Regions from separate parts of the Homo sapiens genome. Here region 2 is linked to region 1. Evidence: promoter capture Hi-C in 16 types of primary human blood cells and fetal thymus (Javierre and others, 2016). All regions are on one chromosome and are shown on one strand. The core of a region is centred on a gene start or on the middle of the fragment in contact, and the rest is flanking DNA. Distances in the headings are between cores, read along the strand shown.

What was found. The method cuts DNA at HindIII sites, captures the fragments that hold promoters and counts their contacts. A CHiCAGO score of 5 or more calls a contact.
Region 2: a contact is called between a fragment that was not itself captured here and the fragment with the promoter of COG5 in region 1, in 1 of 17 cell types (fetal thymus). The highest score is 7.9, in fetal thymus.

Annotation. Positions count from the first base shown.
Region 1 is chr7:107,560,240-107,567,714 of GRCh38, reverse strand. COG5 (component of oligomeric golgi complex 5) reads left to right here and starts at 3,795. Exons shown (of 22, transcript NM_006348.5): 1 at 3,795-3,912. The coding sequence starts at 3,819. It overlaps DUS4L-BCAP29 (DUS4L-BCAP29 readthrough), which reads right to left and starts at 3,744. Exons shown (of 13, transcript NR_163941.2): 1 at 3,506-3,744; 2 at 3,039-3,127; 3 at 529-665. It overlaps DUS4L (dihydrouridine synthase 4 like), which reads right to left and starts at 3,744. Exons shown (of 8, transcript NM_181581.3): 1 at 3,506-3,744; 2 at 3,039-3,127; 3 at 529-665. The coding sequence starts at 644. RefSeq lists enhancers at 2,018-3,217, 3,748-3,867 and silencers at 3,568-3,667, 3,706-3,916. The HindIII fragment of the contact is 2,647 bases long and covers 2,916-5,562 here.
Region 2 is chr7:112,445,509-112,452,983 of GRCh38, reverse strand. It overlaps IFRD1 (interferon related developmental regulator 1), which reads right to left and starts at 2,524. Exons shown (of 12, transcript NM_001550.4): 1 at 2,202-2,524. The coding sequence starts at 2,295. LOC128031837 reads right to left here and starts at 2,497. Exons shown (of 1, transcript NM_001414739.1): 1 at 2,339-2,497. The coding sequence starts at 2,497. The coding sequence ends at 2,339. RefSeq lists enhancers at 1,680-1,799, 1,920-1,969, 2,210-2,499, 1,799-2,616, 2,617-3,434. The HindIII fragment of the contact is 4,445 bases long and covers 1,676-6,120 here.

The DNA.
Region 1 (7,475 bases), core at 2,546-5,045:
GTGAATGTAATTAACACTGCTGAACTGTATACTTAAAAATGATCGAGAGGTAAATTTTATGTTACGTATATTTTATAACAAACTTCTAAAAAAACTCAATAGTAAAAGAGCAAACAATCCAATTAGAAGATGAGCAAAAGATACGAAGAAATATTTCTTCGAAAACTGAACACACAACTACCTTAGGACCCATAATTGCACTCCTATTTGTCCCAAGACTTAAGTTCACATAAAAATCTATACATCAATACTTATATCTATTTAATATCCATTATATACTTATAGGTAGGAGTTACAACCACCACCATTTTTATAGATATAAAAAGTGCAGCTCAGAGAAGTTAATTGTTTACTCAGGATCACATATATACTAGGCAAGTAGTAGCATCATGACTCAATTCTAAGTCATGATTCCAAAGCTAAGAGTTTGAAGTTCCCATATGGTGGGTGGTCTTACAGTACTTTTAAAAAGTCAGAGCATAAAAGGGAAATTTCATCTTAGTTCATTAATCATTTTGCAACACTTACTTTGAATATCGAACCATTGGGGCACAGACTTTTACCAGCTGTCCAGAATGAAACATTTCTATGGGATCTTTTTTTCTTTCCTGACATATTGTCGTTTGCATGCAGTCACTCTTCATTAATACAGATATGTTTCAAATCTGAAAAAGACAATAAGCTTGTATAGAGAAAATATGTTTTCACTATATTAATTCCATTCTAACAATTTCAACTGCCAACAACATATATTTTTTATCAGGCTTGTGGGCTCAGAAATTTTTTTATTAATAGCTTATTTTCACAGTATCCAATATGATACTATAGAATGCTGCCTCTATTTGTAAGATAAATAGATGTGGAAAACTACCCAAGATAGTTGTGGAAACACAAGATGCAGAAAACGAGATTTTTTTTTTTTCCCTAGTTTACCATGTTGTAAGTTTTCATGTTATTTAAAAATTTTTTACATGTTACTTTGTTGGGATTGGTAAGCCAAGAAATTTGGTTTGAATTATTTTATATATGATACTCGACTGGCATTTGGAAATATCTTGTTTTATTCAGGAAAGTTAAATGGCATTAATAGAGCAACTCTTAAGTAGTCAGTGTTTCAAAAGATATGCTGGTGCTTTTATTGTAATTCTTGAATCCTGTTCTGTCTGTGAATCAGAAGATAAACAAACGTTAATTATTTTTAAAAATTTTAATGTGATATTATCTAGTGAAAATTTCAATTATAATTCTACAATTGCATTGTAAATCACTTTTATACCCCAAGAGGTACAGGTACGAGTGATGAAATTATGGAGTTTGTAAATGTTTTACATTTGCTATACTTAAAATCCTACTATTTCACAGTGTTGGCTACTTTTCATATTCCAGTCCTTGGCCTCAGTAACTTAGAAACAGGTATGTATGAAGGAAAAATGAAGCAGAAAATAACAACAACAAAAAAAAGAATCAGATATGGGCCAACTTTAGAATGGTCTAATTGCTCAAACTTTAGAGTCTTTAACCTTTAGGCAAGGAGTTGAAATTAAAAATAGCCAAGGTACTTAAGGATGTCAGGATCTTGCAAGAAACCGCTGGAAGCACCAATATTTAAGTAACAGAGGAAAAGGGGAGAGCAAAAGAGACTGAAGATGAACTTTGGAGCTGGGAGGAATAAACCTAAAGAGTGATACTCAGAAAACGAGAGAGACCATTATGAAGGAAGGAGGGGATAGGTATCTTAAACATCAAAGTAAGGCAAAAATAAAGCGCAATGGCAACAAGGTCATTAGTGATTTTAGCAAGAATTACTTCATTTTTATCCACTCCTGCAGTCATAGTAAATGGCATACAGAAGGCCTCAATATTTATTTGCTGAAAGAATAAATCAGTAGGTTTCAGGGGACTGGGCTCACACCTGTAAACTCAGCATTTTGGGAGGCCAAGGTGGGAGGCTTGCTTAAGGCCAGGAGTTTGAGACCAGCTTGGGCAATATAGTGAGACCCCCATCTCTAAAAAAATTATAAAAATCAGCTGGGCGTGGTAGCAAGCGACTGTGATCCCAACTACTCCAGAAGCTTGGGCAGGAGGATCCCTTGAGCCCAGGAGGTTGAGGCTGCAGTGAGCCACGATCCTGCCACTGCACTCCAGCCTGGGTAACAGAGCTAGACCCCAACTCAACAAAACAAAACAATCAGTAGCTTTCTACCTTAGTTGTACACTACAATGACCCGAGGAGCTTTTAAGAATTAGCATGCCCAAGCCATACCCTAGACCAATTAAATCCAAACGTCTGGGCTCAGGATGCAGGCATCAGTGTTTTTATTAAAGCTCTTCAGGTGATTTCAATGTGCAGCTAAGCTTGGAATTACTGGAATAAGTAAATCCAAAGATTCCAAAGCACCTGGTACAATTGTTTGTTTAAATGGGTTCCTACCTTACCTATTAACTCCTTTTAGAATATGGATTGAGTCTTATGTTTGTAAACTCATGAGAGCATGCAGAGTAGAGGGGTCAAAACTTTCGCTGTATGAATGAATATTACTCACTCTTCTAAAATCTTCCACTGGGGGGAATAAAGCCAAGGAAGGAAAAACAATTCCTAATTCACAAGTAATGAATGAATCACCCCTATTCCCATCATGACTAAGATCTTACATACTAGGGAAAATCCTCTGAGACAAAGAGAGCATAATGCAGTGTAGCATAAGACTTGCTTACCTGAGGTGTTATGAGTATGAAATGCATTGAGTTATAAAATACTTAGAACAGCGATAAGCACAGGATAAGTAATAGCACCTTTTTGAAACAGAATGTAGAAAACCACGTAGCTCTGGAACTGGATAAAATTGGTTTCCTGGATACATACCTACTGTACAAAATGAAAAAGTCATCTTCCAGCTTCTTTTTGCGAAGAAGCTTAAGACTGTCTTGCATACTTGTGGTTGCCTGACCCTGTTAATTTATCAGTATTTATCTTAGAAGAAAGAAATCTAGGTCAAAAACGCGAACGTATTAGTAAAGAAGATACAATGGGAACCAACCTGATGCTCTTACAGCGTCAATACTGTTAGTTGAGATGTGGACCATCTATCAGTTTGTAATTAAGAAAAAGTCTGGCACGTGACTGAAACTGAGGAAGAAGTAGAAAAGGCAAAAGGTCAAAGGTCTCATGGGAAGGAAGGAGGGTAGAGACAGTGAGTTTTATTGGTCCTTTTATGGTTCAGACTTCCTTCTTCATCGACTCTCCCTAATTCTCTTCACTGTTCATCCCCAGCAACTTTTCTTCCCAAGCATTTCCTGCGGGCTTTTATTACCCCAGGAGTGCCAATCAAGGCGTGGAACAGATAAAGCTGTGTAGCAACTAACGCGTGACTCTTGTGAGTGTGGAGGGCAAACGAAGCTCCCTGAAACCTCCGCTCTGCTCTCCTGCCTTACGCCGCGCGGCCCCTGTTCTGAGGTTTAATACTTGCTTCACAGATAAGCGCTGCGGCCACGTTCCGGTGCCCACCTTCTCCTTGGCTAGGGCACGACGCCAGCCCAGGGGGCGCGGCCCTGAGCTGCTGCGAGAGACAGCTGAAAGCGCCGGCCCGACGGCCTTGGCTCCCTCGGTGCGCTGGGCGCAGAGCACTCGGACCCTGGGCGCCCACTGCTCGAGTACCTGCGCGGCTCCTAGCCAGGCTTAGCCCAGGCGCGGGCTGAGAGTCAGTTCGCCAGGTGGGCCTGGAGCCATGGGCTGGGTGGGCGGGCGGCGCCGGGATTCTGCGTCACCACCTGGGCGGAGCCGTTCTGCTGCTGACGACATCAACCCGGCACCTGCCAACATGGAAGGTGGCGGCGGCAGCGTCGCTGTAGCTGGCCTCGGAGCTCGAGGCTCTGGAGCGGCTGCAGCTACAGTCCGGGAACTTCTGCAGGACGGTAAGGAGACGGGGTCTGACCAGGTCGTGGGGTTGGGGGTCTGCGCTGCTCCGCACCTGGACAGCGAGGTGGACCCAACCCGTTGCTTTGCAGAAAGTTTTCCAGTCTGGACGTGACCACTCCCCTCCGCCCGGCCCCCTGGCTTGGGTACTGTTCTAGCCAACCTATTTACTCTGGGACTGGCTCCCTCTTTTCTGGAGTCTTGGGGACACTTGGTTTCTGTGTGTTCCTCATTTCAACTCGACCCCCCCCCCCCCCATGCCTCCAGCTTCCCTGAAGTTTCGGGAGCCCAAACCCTGTGGACCGCGTTGGCAGCCACCGGCTGCTGCCGCAGTTCTTGACGAAGGGGTGTAGCGTTCGAGCTCTTCAAAAGTGTAAGCTCTAGAACAGACGGCAGACGCATAATGAAATAGGGCCTTGTTTTAAAGTAGAGCTGGAAACGCTTACTCCTTTAACAAATGGACTGTACAGGTGACCCCTCTTACAGGCTGGTTTTTTTTTTCCTCCTTTATGAGGCAGTTATCTACAGTGACACGTGGGGGAGGGTTTGAGACATTTGTTCAGGTTGGGATTAACCATTTGTACAGAATCTAGCAGTCAGATTTTATTGCTAGTCAGTTTGGAGAGAAGTTGCCCAAAATAAGAAAAGTTAGATATAATATACTTGAAAAGCATATTCAGTTGTGTCAATCCAGTTACCATGTCCCGAATCTCTTATCCTTCAGAATAAAGTTCACATTTATAAGCATAAAAATAAAGCCCTTCTCACCTGTTCTTAATTTTTTCTCTAGTGGCCATCGCATTCTACCTTGTACTAAAATCATTTGTATACTTGTTTTAATCTCTTCTGTATTGCAAACTTTTTTTAATATCCCACAGTGTGAATAGCAGTATCTTGCATACAGTAGGTGCAGAATGTTTTTTAAATTCATCATCGCAGTTAGAAGCACATGCACACATTTGAAGACCGAAGTGGGTAATAAATGAAATAAAGTTCCAAATTATTGTTTATTTTCTCTGACTGTTAAATATTTTATTGTCATCCTGAATTACGTGCCTTTTCATGATAATTTATGTACTTTTGTCAAAAGCAATGATGTTTTCTGAACTATTTCATGTTGGAAACTCTAGGACCGGGTCTCTGTCTAAAACTTGGCTAAACTGAATTTAAACTTTAGATACAAGGCAGAGACCCTGATATATTTGCAGTTGCTCCTGATACACGTGCAATTTTTGCCCTCAAGTAGTTCACCATCTAGTAGAGGAAATAATCTTGTAGACTATAAAGGTAGGTGCTGTAATATAGTGATGTAAGATAGCAGTAGGATTGCATATAAAGTAGAGCATTAATACAGAGGAGAATGATAACTGGGGGTTGGAAACTGGTTAGGAAATGTCAGAAAAGGCTTTCTAGGTGGAGACGTTTTAAACTGTAGACAGGACTTCCCCAGGTGAACAGTGGAACATTGGATATATGTTTCAGTAGGATGTATTTCAGGAATTGTAATCAGTTCTTGGACGGTAAATACTCTTCAGTTCTGCCTTCTGTATTTTCCTCCTTGGTTCTCTGCCATTCTCCACAGTGATTGTTTAAATCTTCTTTACCCTTTTCAAACCTTTCGCTTCAAGCTCAACAAATGACTTTAAGCTTCCCTGGGGAGAAAAAGAGGATCCATCAGATGTGAACTTTCTCCATTTCTTGCCCATCAAACCTATGAATTTAACCTCAACGTATAACCATCTGTTGCACCTTTTTTCCCTTGCCTTTTCAATTGCAACGGAAGTGGAGCCTCTGCTCCTTTCTTTCTTTCTTTCTTTTTTTTTTTTGAGACGGAGTCTCGCGCTGTTGCCCAGGCTGGAGTGCAGTGGCGCAGTCTCGGCTCACTGCAAGCTCTGCCTCCGGGGTTCACGCCATTCTCCTGGCTCAGCCTCCTGAGAAGCTGGGACTACAAGCGCCCATCACTATGCCTAGCTAATTTTTTGTATTTTTAGTAGAGACGGGGTTTCACCGTGTTAGCCAGGATGGTCTCGATCTCCTGACCTCGTGATCTGCCTGCCTTGGCCTCCCAGAGTGCTGGGATTACAGGCGTGAGCCACCACGCCCGGCCGAGTCTCTGCTCCGTTCTAAGGATAGTGCCTCCTACTTTGCTCTGGATTTTTTCTTCCTGTTTCCTGGGGACTCAGTCACCCTCAATCTATGCCATTGAAGTAACTTTGCAAGGTTTTCAATGACTTTCTTGCACATACGACAAATGGACACTTTTTTGGTCCTTTAACTTGTAATAACATTTGATTCCTTTCTTGAAATACTTTCCTCATGCGGTTTATGGGTGCCGTGCTTTTTAAAAATTCTTAATTCTCTAGGTGCTCTTTTCCAGGTTCCTGTAGATACTTGTCAGTTCAGTTTGTTCTGAATTAAGCGGTCTCTGTTGCCCCTCCACCCCCAACATTCCTGAGGAATTAAGCATTTCCAGCAGAAACTTTGATTCACTATATCGGGGATTTGGCCAATGACAGAGTATCGGATTGATAGGCTTGGTGAGCACAGATGCATAGTATGAAAATTGGTGAGGTGTTTCTGATATGCCCTCTATGGGAATGAGGAAACTATAAAAGAGAAGCATTATATAATTCATCTCTTTAAAGGCTGTCAGCCCTCAAATGCCACATCCCGTTGTGTTTGATCTTTGTAAGCTCTATGACAATACTAATACTTACTTTCTTTATCCCTTCTTTTGGCTTTTGCCATTCTTTTTTGTTTCTCTTTCTCCCTGAGCACTCTTTAGTCTCTTTGATTGCTTTCATTTTCTCTGTCCACCCCCCACTTTCCTATCTTCCTCATTTTCCTGCCTTTTTGTGCATTCTAAAACTTTTTTTTCCTAAATCATCTGGTCTTGTCTGTGGTTTCAGTATGCTCCTTACCTGTCTTCTGAATTATAAAACTATATTTTTAACTGCCTACTGGACATTTCTATCTTAATTTTTTTATGATATGCCATTCCATAACCTGTATGGACATTTCTATTTTGATAGTAAACAAGCAGTGCTAGTTCTATAATACACATGAAAACCTACATATGAACAAATAGTACAAGGTTTACATATGAAAAAATGAAATGAATTCACTTTTTCTGTTCTTCTCTCCTAATCTTTTCCTCTGGTAGTTTCTGTTATCTGTGTTTACTATGTTGTTAGGTAAATGTGTGCTTGTTCCCCTTGTAAATTATGAATTCCTTGGAGGCAGAAGTTTATGTTCATCTTGGTATATTCAGTGTCTAGTGGTCTAAGTTAGTGTAAAACTAAATTTCCTGTATCAGTTGCTTAATCCAGAAATTTGGGAATCCTTGTTTGTTCTACCTAATCACCCATTTTCAGCTTGTCACTAAGTCCTACATCCTGTGCAGTGTGAATATTTGTCAAATTTGTCACTTTGACATTCTTAGTGCCACTTATTCAGGTCTTAGTCGGGCCTTCATTATGTCTTAGGCTGTTAACATAGTACTTTACTGGCCTCTGTGGTTCTATTTCTTGGGTGTATTGGTTAATTGGCTTTGTGGGAAAAT
Region 2 (7,475 bases), core at 2,649-5,148, 4.9 Mb before region 1:
GGACCAAGTTAAAGTTTTAAAAAGTAAATCTCACCCCCATACCTTTCCCCAGCTCCACTTCTGAGGTAACCACAGTTAACAAGTTCTAGCACACACTTCCAAAGATATTCAAAGCATGTATTGTGTTATAAATTAATCAAAGAATTATTTTCCACTTGTTTACATATGCTAAAATTCAGTGATGAAATGGATCTTTTCTACTAAAATAGTGAAAAGGTAGCAGCAATAAAGCTGATGAAAGGTCACAAATGAGCCCTGAAGCAAAATTTAAAAGGCAATCCCCATACAGCCACCAGAGGCCTGTATAGGTACTATAAGCACAAAGAGGGAAGGAGGCTTGCCCAGAAACTTTAGACGGGATTAAAGGTTTGTGCGTGATCTAGGCCATTACTAACATCATTATAACTTTCAAACTTTAGCTTTCAAACTTTTCCATTTCATCAACAAAAGGGTAATAGAATAAAATAAATACCTTCTAGAAAGAATTCAAATGTTTGATTCAGATGAGGAAAAGCTGAAACACAGTGGTAAGAAATATCCTCAGACCAGGCACCGTCCCAGCATTGTGGGAGGCTTAGGCAGGAAGATCCCTGGGGACGAGGGACTCGTGACCAGCCTGGCCAACATAGACCTTGTCTCCACAAAAAATGTAAAAAATAGCCAGGAATGGTGTCACATGCCTGTAGTCCTAGCTACAGGAGGCTGAGGAGGGAGAGCTGCTTGAGCCCAGGAGTTAAGAGGTTGCAGTGAGCTATGATCACACCACACCGCACTCCAGCCTGGGCGACAGAGCCAGACTCCCTCTTTCCCTTAACAAAAAAAAAAAAAGTATCCTCAATTCACATAGAGCAACCAGAGGCCACAATAAATTACATATTTTACATCTTGATAAAGAATGAATTTCATCAACATGGAGAGCATTCAAAATAAAGAGGCACCTAAAAAATGTAAAAAATTGCTGTTTTAAGAATCCCTCCCTATGGTCAATTATTAAATGTTTAATACATGATCACGAGTTTTTGAGCTTTTTTAAATGCCAGTTTCCAATAACCTTTAACAACATAACCCCATATTTACTTTTCTTGTGAACAAAGGCATATCATTCTGAGTGGCAGCCGTGGCAGAGGGGCAACTGTGTCCAAAAATACCTGATGGCTAATAGTTCCAGTGTGATAACGTCGGAGAATACTCCAATATTTAACTCCTGTTTAAATTTCTAAATAAAATATTACCCAGGTTATTTAATACTCGATTTGAGTTTATTGGGGTCTCTCCTAGAAGGGCCTTCCAATTCCAATTGGAATCCTTTTTCTTAACCATATAATAAGTAGAAAACCATAAGTTCAGTTAAGCACCTACTCATCCCACCCAGGAAAAGTTTCAACTTCGTAGCGAGGGCACAATAACCTCAACTTTTAGCCAACTGCAACCTAAGCTCCTCACCACCCTGCCTCTCTGGGGCTCACTGCAGAGAACATATAGAATGCAGCACAAAGGAGAACGCGTTTCTTCCCCCCGTGAGCAGGAGGTCGCCTCGGGTGGTCGCAGAGGTGCTAGAGGTTCAGGGCTTCTGCAGGTGCCAGTTAGGGGAAGGAGCACAGCCTAGGGGGGAGAAAGTGGTCCCCCCGCCTCCGACGCCTTCGCCTGGCCAGGTGGACCTGCGAGACGGAAAGCTTCCCCAGCGCCTCTGCGTCACCCCGGGCCCACCGCGCAAGGCCCAGGCCGCGTGACGCAAGAGCCCGTCCAAACCCGCCGGACGTCTGGCATCCCAGGAGCTCCATGTTGGAGCCAGGGTGTCAAAGGCGGCCAGTGACGGCACGGGCTCAACTCCCCGTTCTTCCCCACCCGTGGTCGGGGAGAGATCGGGCGAGATCGCCGCCGAGAAAGGAACTCTGACAATGGTTCCTTTCCCGCCCAGCTCCCGGTCAGCCCCTGTCCCGACACACTCTCAGGCCCAAGGACCCGTTCCTCCCTGCCCCCACGGCCGGTGCCCAAGAGTCCGGTTCGCACGCCAGATCTAAATCGCGCGAGGAGCAGCGCCCAGGGCACGCTGGGAATTGTAGTTCAGTAGCCAAACCACGCACCCTGGAAATGCAAATGTGTACATCAGAGAAAGAACTACAACTCCCACCGTGCCGAAGCATGGAAGACTCGCCAGCCTGGCCGGCAACTGGGATGCCGGCGGCGGGGATACCCCTTACCTGCTGTCGCCGCCGTCGCTGCGGCTGCTCCTGACCCGCCGCCGCCAGCACTGCTACCGCGGTGGGGAGTGTTCCGCTTCTTGTTCTTCGGCATCGTGGGACGCCCGGTGCCGCCCAGAGTCGGAGCTTAGCGAGGATCAGCCGATGGAGCTGCACTTTTTACTCGTGCGTCTGTGCGGCGGGCGGCTGAGAGGCGAGTCTTCGGCTAACAACAGAGTCGAGAAGCGGCGGGGGTAAGAGTGGGCGGTGGCGGCAGCAGAAATCCCCGTGAAGAGCTGTGATCGAAAACGATACATGTTTCTCTCTAGCGCGGGAGCTAAGGCGGGGCAGGGGAGGCCACGACGCCTTAAGTAGCAATACCGCCACCTGACGTCACTCTGTGGGCGGGGCTTGAGCGCTTCCCAACCAATCCCTGCACACCTCCCCACTGGACGCCTCCGTCGGGCGGGGCGCGGATCCTACCTACAAATCCCATGCGGCCAGTCTTCCGTCCGCGCCCAGGGAGCCTGTCTTCGTGGCCTCACTGAATTCTGGGAAACGTAGTAAGGCTGGGGCCGGGGCCTCCTCCCAGCCGTCTCTTCCCAACGGGCTTTTCTGCCCACTTGCTTTTCTCCTGGTGACCCCACCCCTGCCTCGGCGCGCCCCCGCCTTGGAACTGGGTGAGGTAGGCACCGGCGATGCACAGTGGGGCGAGTATGCCCTATGACGAGAGTCGGCTTCCAGCTGGCAGCTATGCAATCACCTTTGCTTCTCTTTCTCCGGAGGCTGGTGTTCTCCTTAACCTTTCCCCTACTTCCCTGCGGCACCTGCCAGGCACGCAGCCTTACCTCTCCTGGGTAACATTTCCATGGTTTTAGTTTTAACTAGTTCCATGAACTACTTAAGCCATCATCAGTACTGTACCTGTAATTGGACCGTGGTTCAGGGTTATGTGCCCCCCATCCCCCCCCCCCCCCAAAAAAAGGGATGCTTTCGTCTACTTAGTTGTGGAGTTCGTGTATATCTCAGATTCTAGACTAGGAATATATGACGATTCAGCGTTGTGGGTTTCTATACAAGAATGTGTCCCTTGACAATACTACCTGCCAGTTCTGAGAATTTCACAGCTGGTAAAACAAACACAAGTTATACAGATCAATAATCGCAGTGCTGCCTTTTTTCTCAAGGCACTCCTAGATCTCTGTCTTCCTTGTTAGGACATTTGTCTAGTATTTAGAGCCTGTTATTAGGTTCATATACTATGCTTATGACAGATCAAAGTCCCTGACTCACCTCAATGTAGGTGAGTCATCCGCCACTCCACCTCTCAGCTGAGCTCTATTCTATTTTCAATTGCCTGTAGCAAATTTCCACCAGAATGTTCCACTTGTGCCTCAACCCAACATCTCTGAAACGAATACTATATTTCCTTCTTCCTGTCTTCCCTTTGTTCACTGTACTATTTATTATCCTCCCATATGTTAAATTCCAAAACTCAAATTCATAGTCTTTTTTCCCTTTGATGCACCACCCCCTCCCCACCCGCAAAGCAATTAGTTTTAAAATAGCACTCTTAAATTCCTGTCCTATTCTGTGATCACATGTGACCTCAGTTCATGCCTGGGCATTTTAAGCGATCTCCCAGTCTTTTCATCCATGTTTCATGCACAGTAATGCTGCCAGATTTATTTGTGTGTTCCCTATTTTACTAATCCACCTGCTTTAATAGTTGCTCAAAAACATTCCATGGCTCCCATGACTAACTTTAAATGCCAACCCTTTTAGCCTGGCCCTGACTCCCTTTCCAGCCTCATCTTTCACTGCTTCCTCATACAGTTCTTGTTCTTCAGCCAAACAGGACTGCTTTTCATTTCCAATACACGGCTCTCTTCTCCTACCTCCATTTCCTCATTCATATTCTTTCCTGTTCTTGTAATGCCTTTCCTCCCATCTTCACCTTAAGAAATTTTATCCACCGTTCAAGATGTAGCTCATGCTGCCACCTTCCTGAAGCCTCCAGCCAGAAGTTTCTTCCTCCTCACAACTCTTTGACACTCATCCTAATAATGCCCTAATGGCACTTATTACCTCCCCACACGGCCTACTCAAAGATGCTATTTAATGGGCAACATTTCAGGGTTGCTTTTACTTTGTTTAATCCTGAAGCAGCCAGTAAACTGCACAGAGCACAGAAACCAAATACGGAGGCAGGTTGTGGGGGAGGAAGCAGCTCACACTGACTCCTTGTATCTAGAGGCACACTGCAACTCAGTGACAGGGCCTATACAGAATGAGATGTCTCACAGAATTGTAGACTCAATAACTTTTATAACCCTAGGCTCTTCACCATCCAGAAACAATTTATACTATACATAAGGCAACAGTTTTGCCACTCTGGAGTCACATCACCTAGGCCTAACATCCAGGTTCCAGCCCTGGAAACGTGTGCTTTGCATTTGGGGCAGGGGCTTTTTTTCCAAATCCCTTCACATCCACTTAGTCGTTCTGCGGCAGGCCTGGCCATGGCCCACCACATCATATACGTACTTGTTTTACATTTATTTGTGAATACATCTGTCATCTCATGAAATTATCAGCTTCCCAAGAACAAAAATCTTTTCCTCTTTTTAATTTCTTTTCTTTTTTTCTTACTTTTCTTTCTTTTTTTTTTTTTTTTAAATCTACAGGCCCAGGAACTTGAAAAAATCTTGCTGTATCCCTCATGGCACAAAAGGAAGTGTTACATTTGAAATTGAAATTATAGTCAGTATATATATAGTTAAATGAACATTTAAGAAATAATTGTTGACTAGATTTTTCTGGATCAAGGAAAGGGAGAAACTTATGTATCACTACATACATACATTCTGGATCAAGGAAAGGGAGAAACTACTTATCACTACAAACATGAAGTACAGCCTTCAGTATAATGAATTCTGAGAGATACTGTACTTTTGATAAAATTACCTTACTATAGTTTTATGCCTGCAGTTTAGCTCCAGACCAGTGCAAACATCACAAAGATGTAGCCCACCTCCTCATGGGACAGTGGTCTTCAGCTCCACATACTATTTTGCAATATGTTTAAAGAAATTAGAAGACTCCAAACATCAAGTCACTAAATGATTACAAATACCAGAAAGGAAGGGGAAGCACGAAAGGGAACAGGAAAAAGGGCTTTCTCCAGACTTTGCCTTTTTCTTCAGGAAAGACCACACTCCCTAGAAACTTCCACCTACATGTTGACCAGAACTGTGTCACAGGATGATCCCTAGCTGCAAGGAAGTTTAGAACACAAGTATTTTCGGTTGGGCTCATTCGCAAACAAAATTGAGGTTCTGTTGTTAAGAATGAAGGGGAAACCATGGATATAAGGTAGACAAATAGCAATGTCTGCCTCATATATCAGGAGGCAAAATACTCTCATGCTCTAATAAATAAATATCACATATTTGTTACCAACATGACATTATGTGCTGCCTCAACATTTAAGTCATTGTAAAATATATTCTTCTTTTACAAAACAACTTAGTTTAACATTCCATGGAACAGAAATCACCATCAGGGTAAGTATACTCAAATGTTGCAAAAATAAATCTTACATTAATCAGAATTTAGGGGCACGCCTGAGAAGAGTTCTAAGTTCTCATTGATGACTTTGATTCAAGAACAAGTAATAAAGATAAGATTCAGTATTCATACCTTCCTTGAAGGCATAAACATGAAAGGTTTTCTTTGAATGACTTTAGTCATGGCCTCCTTGGGATTCTCTGCATAGCACTGAGCAGAAATAATACCTCCCAGATCCTCCATGTAGGGCTTGTCGGAATCTGTTTCTTGCCTGTATCTCCCAAATCACTTCTCTCATCACCTAACACAGTCCCTTTCCTAATGCCATATCAAACTCTTAGCAGGTCTCTGAGCTCACCACTCTCAAGCTTCCAGGCCTTACCTAGGTTTGGCACATACCTCTCTCTCCATATTGCATCTCCTGCCCCTCTTTTCATCCACTGCATTTCAGCCACACTGGTCTTTGCCAACTTAAAAACACAAAGTTCATTCCCCACTTAAGACTTGCAACAGCTCCTCCCTCTGCCTGATATGATCAACCCGAGCTTCCCACACTTGCCATTCAGATCTGAGCTTAAATGACACCTACCTGAAGAGGCCTTCCTACTCTCCCACTCTTCCACTCTCCATTCTAAGGTCGCATCCTCACCCCACCTACCACCAGCACCTCCACCCTGCTTATATTCTCCCAAAGTACATCGCACTACTTAATATTTTTTGGCCCAATTATTTTTTGTCTCTTCTACTAGAATGTTAGAATTACAAGAAAGAGATCCTGTCTGTTTTATTCACTATTGTATCTTCAGTACTGGAACAGTACGTGGCACTTAGATATTCAATTATTTTTTACTGAATGTTTACACCACTCCTGAGAAGAATAAGCGTAAGCGAAAGAAGGTGAAGCTGGCTGTCCTGAAATACTGTAAGGTGGATGAGAATGGCAAAATAAGTCGCCTTCATCTAGAGTGCTCTTCAGATGAATGTGGTACTGGAGCGTTTATGGCCAGCCACTTTGACAGACATTATTGTGACAAATGTCTCATTGCTTCAGCAAACCAGAAGACAATTAATTGTGTATGAGTTAATAAAAGACATGAACTAACAAAACACATTTACTGAATGAATAAATGTATTAATAATTAAATGTCACTCCTCTGCCTAGAACATCCTTCCCCACGATCTCCCCATCATCCTTTAAGTTACTGATCCTCGGTCACTAATCCTGGGCCCCCCAAATTGTCTGATTTAAATGTCTTTCTTTTTTGTTCTTGCAGTGCCTTCTTTAGACTAGCATTAATTATATGTATTGTAGGGTTTTTTTACTTCTTTTTTTTTAATATGTATTGTAGTTCTTGATTACTTGTCTGTTTTCCCCTCAGACATGAGATACAAGCTACATGCTACTTGTGGGCAAAGCCCAGTTTTGTCACTTCTGAAACACACATGTAGCACCTTTGTGCAAATTAGAAACAGAACACCAAGTCTGATGAGTGTTTATGGGCTGGAATCCAGTCACCAATCTCTCTTCAGCAGGGAACAACCTATACATCTGTACATAGTGGCCCAGTAGACAATAACTGTGTTTTTAATTGAATGAGGGAGTCAATTTCCTCTGTATTTTAGCAGTTTTCTTAAAAGCAAAGGAACTAATGTGGGGAAAAGGATGAGGCTAACATTTATTGCAAGTCCACACTGCCACTGTTCTAGACTGTTTTCACACCTCTC